Regions from separate parts of the Homo sapiens genome. Here regions 1 and 3 are each linked to region 2. Evidence: promoter capture Hi-C in human tissues and cell types (Jung and others, 2019). All regions are on one chromosome and are shown on one strand. Each heading gives the region's core, a stretch centred on a gene start or on the middle of the fragment in contact. The rest is flanking DNA. Distances are from core to core; before and after follow the strand shown. Region 1 overlaps UACA (uveal autoantigen with coiled-coil domains and ankyrin repeats). Region 2 holds the start of THAP10 (THAP domain containing 10). Region 3 overlaps LOC105370886 (a long non-coding RNA gene).

Region 1 (2,934 bases), core at 1-2,500, 210 kb before region 2:
TCTACACGGGCTTGATTAACTGAGAAGAGAGATAGAACGCATTTAAACTCAGAATAGTTATGCTAACTATTAACTAGTTTTACTAAGCACTTTAAACTATACAATACATATAATTATTTAAAATTAAAATTAATATCTACCTGTTGCAAAGATGGCCCTTTCTTCCAAAGTTCTCTCCCTAAGATTTAGAGAAAAAGAGAAACAACAAAATGGCAGGTTAACTTGGGGTAGGTACGCATTCCCTAACTATACAATTGAGTCAATATTAAATAAATAAACTTTAGAGTTTCCTCTAAAGCTTACAACTTTTTAGTTTTATTTCTAAAACGTATGCTTGAAACAATAATGACATCTCACTTTTGCCTATCAAATTAGCAAAATTTTTATAACAATATTCAAGTAGGTAAGATTAAAGACTAAGGATTGGAGGCAGGTAAAAAATGGGAAATTTATTTAGGCTGGGTATGGTGGCTCACACCTGTAATCCCAGCACTTTGGGAGGCTGGGGCAGGAGGATCACTTGAGGCTAGGAGTTCAAGACCAGCCTGGGCAACATAGCAAGACCCCATCTCTACAAAAAAAATATAAAAAATTAGCTGGCCATGGTGGTACATGCCTGTAGTCCCAGCTACTCATGAGGCTGAGGCAGGAAGATAACTTGAGCCCAGGAGTTTGAGATTGCAGTGAGCTATGATGGCACCACTATACTCTAGCCTGGGCAACAAAGGGAGACCCCATATCTAAAAAAAAAGAGGGGAAGAAAATTTAAAAAGCTCCTAAATTCGAAGGCAATTTGCCAACATAGACCAAAGGCTTAAAGAAATGTGCATGCCCTGAAACTCAGTGATTCAATTTCTAGGAACCGACCCTAAAGGGTAATAAAAATATACTAAAATATTTATGCATAAGGACAGTCATAACCTTTGTGTATTAATGAATAATTATAAATAGCTTAAACACTACATGTAGAAAACTGCTTTATTAAATGAAACTTAAATAAATGGAATCTCATACACCAACAAAAATCATACTATAGAAAAACTATTTTTGAGGGAAAGGCCTTCAAAATAGGTTACATAAAAAAGTAAGCTACAATTCAGATTTACAGTGAATTCAATTTAATGGGAAAAGACTAGAAGGATATTTCTCAAAATGTTAACAGAGGCTTCTCAGTGGTAATGAGTGACTATTCATTGTGCTTTTCTGTATGTTCCTGTTTTTTTTAAAAAAAACATAAAAAATCATGGCATAGGCATTTGGTAAATATCAGCTGACTATTTTACATACATGTTTAAACAATGATTCTTTAAAACTTCGTAAGTATAAAAAGTTGGGAGGTTCACCCCTCTTCATCAAAAAAAAAAAAAAACTTAGTAAAACACTTGACTCTTCCTTCTCAGTTCTGAAGTTATTCCAGTGTCTTAGTGTTCACTGGATAAACTAGATTATATATGCAACACACACTGCCTCAAAGCAAGTGACCATAATGTAAGTAAGCAAATCCATGTTGTAGAGGGAGATGAACCAATACTGTTTATCAGTAAGGAATGTTTTGCTTCTTATAAACTGTAGTTCTACTACCTAAGTCTTTTAAAAAGTGGCTCTTTGTTAATGTGGACTTTTCTAGTTACAGAAAACTGCTGATACCTTTGTTGGTATTTTCCGATGCAGTCTTCAACAAGGTTAGAATGTCCAGATTGTCACCAATTCTTGCATAGTAAGAACTATCATGGCCAAGCGCATCCAGCAAGCTTATATCAGCACCATTTTTAATTAAGACTTCTACTGCATCTCTGCAACCATATTCGCAACCTAGCATGAGGGCAGTTCTAAATGGAAAAATGGAAGAGCAAAAGACTGAGAAAACTCCAAGGAAATATTGCAGAAATATTCTGCCCTATTGTTGAACACTGTCTTAGTGTTCACTGGATAAACTAGATTATATATGCAACACACACTGCCTCAAAGCAAGTGACTATAATGTAAGTAAGCAAATCCATGTTGTAGAGGGAGATGAACCAATACTGTTTATCAGTAAGGAATGTTTTGCTTCTTATAAACTGTAGTTCTACTTGAACACTAAGTTCAAGTAAGTGTTCAACACTACTTGAACACTTACTTGAACACTAAGACATGCTCCCTTCTTGAAGAATAGACACTACTTTAAGAAGTCATGCCTGTTACAGATATAGATTTTACTTTATATTCATTGCATTTATAAAAACATTTGCTTTGTCTTCTATATCCTTATATCCTTTAATTACTTCTACTACCAAACCAACCTCATTTATTCCACTTCTTCAATGTCCTACACGTAAATAATCACCACAAAAATTTTCCACAACTGATACTGTCACCCCATGTGATCAAAACCCAACTTTTTCAGTCCCTTCATGAACTGAACCACATCATGCAAACCTCCCCTAAGAATCCCTTCTCCTCCAAGAGAAGTATCAGATTCCATTCCTGATGTTCCTGCTTAGAAGAACCTTGATTCTTCTACCTGAAGACCTTCACATCTTCAGACTACAACTAACGCCATGCAACATGGATCATTGCTTTATTCTATTGCAATAGAACCACTGGCACTCAAACATCTCACAGTACATCAGCAAATACTAATCATGCAACAAAATAATTGTCATGAAAATCTAGAAGGACCCTAGAAATTATTTTGTCTAATCCTCTATTTTTTAGGATGGGGCTAACCAACACGTAATGAAATGAAATGACATATCCTATATCTAACTCTGTCTTCAATTGTGAATATTGGATCTCTTAAGGAAACTGACTCTTGCCTTTTCTCTGCTATGTATGCTGTGTTTCTCATATTCAAGCCTTGTCCCCCAACTCCCCTGTAGTTGCTGATAAGAAATTCTGTACAAAACAGGCATTAACAAAGTTTTTGTTATTTAAAAAATGCTACATATAAAA
Region 2 (2,700 bases), core at 101-2,600:
TTACTAACCTCTTGCTATAATTTAATCTGTGTAATGGTGGCAAGGCTGAAGTTTATCACAAGGAAGGCTGGAAAGTTTTCTTTAAAATGGTACGTGGGGAAGAAGGTAGTAGTAACCAGATGCAAAATGAGTGCAAACAATGTTTAGAAGGAACAGAAAAGTAGGCAGAAGAGAGCAAGATGGGGAAAGTCAGCTCACTAGGGATACTGAACTTAAAGGCAGCTGGAGCTAGTTATCAGTCATAAAGGAAGCTTGGGGTGGGAAGGGATTTATTAGCAAGCTCCATCATCTTCATCTGTAGCTCCACATCTCCTTCGCCCCATCATTTGTGACACAAATAAGGGACTTTCCTCAAGCTTATGTAATGTTATGCAACACAGTTTCAAGCACTCCAATCCTGGAGATTTGCTCAAATTAAACCCTTTCTATTTAAAAACTCTGGAGCAGCGAGTGAAAGCAACTCACTACTCTGCAGGACAAGACTCTGTGTGTGTGTGTGTGTGTGTGTGTGTGTGTGTGTGTGTGTGTGTGTGTGTGAGTTTTGGGGGAGGAGCAGTTAGAAGGAATTAACTGGGTCACTTAATTCCAAAGTGTTAATGATAAGTGGGACCTTGGAGATCACCTCTAAAGCACACCCCTAACTTTGCAGATTAGAAAACAGGAACTTTCGAGATGAGGTGCCTTTCCCAAGGTGACACTAAGTGGAGGAGCCCAGCCAGAGTCCAGGGGTCCTTACACAACCTTCGGTGGTCTCTCTTTACCTGTGAAGCTGCAGCCTGCTTCCCAGCTCGGGGGCGTGTACAGGAGACTGGACCTGGGGCAGCCTCAGAATGCCTGGCTGCCTGGAGCTCTCCTCGCGTGTCCAGGCGGCCTGCTTGGTCTCCCTCCTCTCCCCTCTTAGGTGCCGGGGCGGGCACCCGGTGCAGGGTGGGCACGGCGCCTGCCACCAGCCTCAGGCGCTGGGAGAAGCGCAGGTTCTTCTGGATAACCGAAGAGACGTCAAAACAGGCTGGGGCAAAGTGGTCAGAGCAGATGACCGAGCGGTCATTGCCTCCGTACCAGTCGGCGCGGCAACCCCGCACGAAGCGGTCCCAGAGCAGCCGCACGGCCCGGTCCTTGGGAAAGCGGAACAGCGACTTCCCAGACTTGGTGGTGTTGCCGCAGTGGGCGGCCACACAACGGGCCGGCATGGCGGCCGTCTTCGGTGCGCGGGAGCCGGGTTCCCTGGACCTTCGCCCTTGGGCACGCTCCTCGCAGCGGCCTCGGCGAGGCAAGTCCTCCCCTCCTCACCTGTCCACTCCGGGTCGGGATTGTTTCCTTCCCTACCTCTGGTCACCGGAAGTGGCGATCTGGGGCCCCCAATGGGAGGGCTCTTTGATATCTTCCTCCTCCTCCTCCCTGCGCTGCTCCCCAGGAGCCAGTGGACACAAGCAGAGGGATACAAATTTCGCGCGGGCAGCGCTGAGGTGGGCCGTAAAGAGGAACGGACCGGAAGTGGTGGTGGTTATAGCAACCAGTGTGGCCAGCCTCTTCCCCAGCTTATCCTCCTCCCAATACTCCCGCTCTGTTTTTATGAGGCTGGGAAAATAGAACGAGGAAGTGGTGACGCACTGGGCTCTCACGAATACAACTAGAAGCTGCAACGACTGTGTGGCTCTATCGATTCGGGAGAGGTCCAGACCGGAAATGGTCGTTTCCATGGTAACCCTGAGCAGGTTGCCTGGGAGATGACCTCTTTCGGGTCTCTTTGAATCTCCGCTGTAGCGTCACCTGGAAGGCAGATCTAACAGAGAACCTGGACTGTCTCCTATCATGATTCCCGGGAAATATCGCTCTGTTTCTGGCCGGGCTGCGAACAACGTAAGTTGGGCCTTCTACTTTCTCTTTCTTCCCACTGGTACTCTTTCTGACTGGCGTCTTTGTCCTAGGAGATGGGCTGTATTATTAGGACCGGCACCGCTGGGTCTACTCAAGCTATTGTCTGACCAGGGTTTGAGGTTCGTGGGCTGGACCAAGGCACAATTTAATATTGTATGATGGGTACTCAAAGTCTTGTCCAGGATCTGGGCTCCCCAGAAGGTGGAGCTGGTCTGCTGTGAAAGGCTTGGGTTTATTTAAATTCCTTTGGCCAGTCAATTCCTTTTTCTTTTCTTTTCCTTTTAACTGTGAAGAGAATTTATCATTAGGGACTCCCACCTCCTTCACCTGTCTCATTGAGATGTTTATTTAGACCTGAATGGCAAATGTCGAAAGCCTGAGGTACTAACTAGAGGGTTAAATTGCTGCCGACATTTTGGAAAATAAATCAGTGAAACCTTTTAATTCTTAGATGTGATTTTATTGTTTTCAGCAAATCCTCAGAACAAGATCATTTACCAGAAACAGAAATAGAGCATTGTGTTCTATTTTTTTGTTGTATTTCTGTTTGTACCTTTTTTTTTTTTGGAAATATGTGTTTGTGTATTAAGAGCAAATTTTATGGTTTAATTTTTACATTTCAGGTGAACTGCGGGCTTCATCTGGTTATTCAAACATCATCGCTTCCTGAAAAAAACAAAGTAAGATTTAAGAAGGTTGGCATTTAAATTGAAGATTGTTTTAAATTCTACACAAATAGCAGCATGACTTAAAGTGTAGATAGATTCTAAACTGAAAAATTTAAGTAGATTTGCTTTGATTTCCAGTTTAAAGCTAGTTCTT
Region 3 (2,700 bases), core at 158-2,657, 190 kb after region 2:
TGAAGCAATTGCAGGACCCTCGCTCCTGGGTGCACACCGTTCTCAGTCTCAACCTACCTATCATGGAAGCAGAGGCAGAGCAGAGACAAGAGAAGAGTGTTTTGATCTATCTGTGGTAGAGGCTGGGGACTCCACGGGTGTTTTCATTTCCCCTCCTAAGCCAGTGGGAGGGCGATTGAACAGCTGGCCTCTGCTACAGTTCAGGATTGACTCCCTTAGCAAGGCTTTCCTAAGTGTGCCTTTCTGCTTGAGTTCTTTCTAGATTCCAAGCAGACATAGTTCTACCTGGTTTCCACAGAGTCTTTCTTTAGATATGCTAATGTAATCAATTAACTAACGCAGAGCCTTGCTGTGTCCTGTGAGCCTCCATTTCTGTAAGGTCTGTAACCTGCTGTGTTAATTGTGCTCTCAAGGCAACTTGATCCACGTCCTGGGGGCACTCCTCACTTGTGGTCCCTTCCCCAAGCTGCAATTACCACCTTGTATGCAGAATTGCTTTGAAGCATGGTATTCTTTCTGGACCATCCCACAGAGAAAAGCAAGATTTTAGCTTGTATGTGCTGCCCGGGGTCTCAGAAATCAACTTGCTATGTACCCAGTTCTGGGTTCCCAGACAGCCACTGTGATGTGAAGGCTTCCTGGCAGGGTGGGTCTATTTCTTCACCCTCACCCCCTTCTGCAGACATAGCAGACATCAATGGGGAGATGAGAAGAAGGCAGAGGAGTTGTGCTAAGAGGAGGACATTCTTGAAAATCTGAAAGATTTCATTATCTTATAGAACTTTGGCTTTTAGAGCTGCTTTTCTAAATTTCCTCCTCTACCTTCCTGTGTCTGCAGCCCCCATTTACTCATCTTTAAATGAAAGCAGGACATGGTTCTGACAGCCCCCATAGAAGGCCAAAGAGATGTGAGACTCCTGAGTGGGGAGCTAAGGGGAGTGAGGGAGCAGGAGTATCCAGGTGAGCACAGGAAGTGGTGAGGGTAGGAAAGAAAGAGTGTCCATGGGTGACACAGCTCCCAGGGGACAAGGGAAGGGTATGTGAAATTCCCAAGGGCTTTTCAGAACAAAGTCTTATCATCCTACTGTGCGGTGGAGTTAGATCAAGGGACTCCTTATGCTTTTTGGCCCAATGTGGGCCTTTGTGGGTTGTTATAGGTGGGTTGTTATAAGTAGCTTCAGGTCCAAAGTGAGAAACTAGTCAACATACTCTCCTGCCTCTGTGTGACTGATAGGCAGAGAGTAAGACTCTTGAGTAATGTACTGACCATTCTTCCAACATTACAAGCATAGCAGGAAAATCCCACAATTCCCACTGCAGGAAGTGCTAGATCACCAGGGGAATATACTAAAACTCCAGACTTCCAAGATGGAAGCCTCCACTCATTGTTAACTTCAAAAGTCTTTTTATCAAATTCTTTGAAATGAATGAAAACAATCTTCCAAAATCTCTGGGACGAGGCAAAAGCAGTTGTTAAGAGGGAAGTTTATAGCACTGAATGCCTACATCAAGAAAATAGAAAGATCTCAAATTAATGATCTAACATTACATTACACATAAATGAACTAGAAAAACAAAGAACAAGCTAATCTCAAAACTAGCAGAAGAAAAGAAATAACTAAAATAGAACAGAACTAAACAAAATTAAGACCCATCCTAAAACATACAAAGGATCCACAAAATGAAGAGTTGGTTTTTTGAAAAGAAAGAAAGAAAGAGAGAGAGAAAGACAGAAAGAAAGAAAGAAAGAAAGAAAGAAAGAAAGAAAGAAAGAAAGAAAGAAAGAAAGAAAGCAAAAAGAAAGACCCAAATGAGCACAATCAGAAATGACAAAGGTGACATTACAAATGATCCCACAGAAATACTAAAGATCCTGAGAGACTATTAGGAACGCCTATATGCACACAAACTAGAAAACCTAGAGAAAATGGATAAATTCCTGGAAGCACACAACCTGCCAAGATTGAATCAGGAAGAAAATGAAACTCTGAACAGACCATTAATATGTTCTGAAATTGAATCAGTAATAAAAAACCTACCAACCCATAAAAGTACTGGGCTAGACAGATTCATAGCCAAATTCTACCAGACATACAAAGAAGAACTGGTACCAGTCCTACTGAAACTATCCTGAAAGACTGAGGAGGAAGGATTCTACCCTAACTCATTCTAGGAAACCAGTATTATCCTGATACCAAAATCTGACAAAGACACAGTGAAAAAAGAAAACTACAGGCCAATATCCCTGACGAACATAGACATGAAAATCCTCAACAAAATCCTAGAAAACCAAACCCAGCAGCATATCAAAAACTATTTCACCACAATCAGTAAGCTTTATTCCTGGGATACAAGGTTGGTTCAGCATACGGAAATCAATAAATGGATTCACCACCTAAGCAGAATTAACAAAAACCATGTGACCATTTCAGTAGATGTAGAAAAAGCTTTAGGCGAAATCCAATATCCCTTCGTGATAAAAACCCTCAACAAACTAGGAATTGAAGGAACATATCTAAAAATAATAAGAGTCATTTATGATAAACCCACAGCCAACATCATACTGAATGTACAAAAGCTGGAAACATTCCCCTTGAGAAATGAAAAAAAGACAAGGATGCCCATTCTTACTTCTATACAACATAGTAGTGGAAGTCCTGGCCAGAGCAATCAGGCAAGAGAAAGAAATAAAAGGCATTC

Evidence for each region. Contacts are between HindIII fragments. The study calls those that stand out against the background at their distance.
Region 1: a fragment that was not itself captured here is called in contact with the fragment with the promoter of THAP10 in region 2 in 2 of the 25 tissues and cell types used here (dorsolateral prefrontal cortex and hippocampus).
Region 3: a fragment that was not itself captured here is called in contact with the fragment with the promoter of THAP10 in region 2 in 2 of the 25 tissues and cell types used here (H1 embryonic stem cells and aorta).

Annotation. Positions count from the first base shown.
Region 1 is chr15:70,682,618-70,685,551 of GRCh38, forward strand. It overlaps UACA (uveal autoantigen with coiled-coil domains and ankyrin repeats), which reads right to left. Exons shown (of 19, transcript NM_018003.4): 8 at 1,648-1,829; 9 at 141-178. Among named protein-coding and RNA genes, the nearest start is that of SALRNA2, 49 kb to the left of the region's middle. The HindIII fragment of the contact is 3,042 bases long and covers 1-2,771 here.
Region 2 is chr15:70,891,083-70,893,782 of GRCh38, forward strand. It overlaps THAP10 (THAP domain containing 10), which reads right to left and starts at 1,351. Exons shown (of 3, transcript NM_020147.4): 1 at 762-1,351. The coding sequence starts at 1,190. LRRC49 (leucine rich repeat containing 49) reads left to right here and starts at 1,744. Exons shown (of 16, transcript NM_017691.5): 1 at 1,744-1,860; 2 at 2,502-2,558. The coding sequence starts at 1,813. RefSeq lists an enhancer at 1,006-1,704. The HindIII fragment of the contact is 16,576 bases long and covers 1-2,700 here.
Region 3 is chr15:71,085,607-71,088,306 of GRCh38, forward strand. The region is part of intron 3 of LOC105370886 (a long non-coding RNA gene); the gene reads right to left. Among named protein-coding and RNA genes, the nearest start is that of THSD4, 29 kb to the right of the region's middle. RefSeq lists an enhancer at 1-567. The HindIII fragment of the contact is 3,201 bases long and covers 1-2,700 here.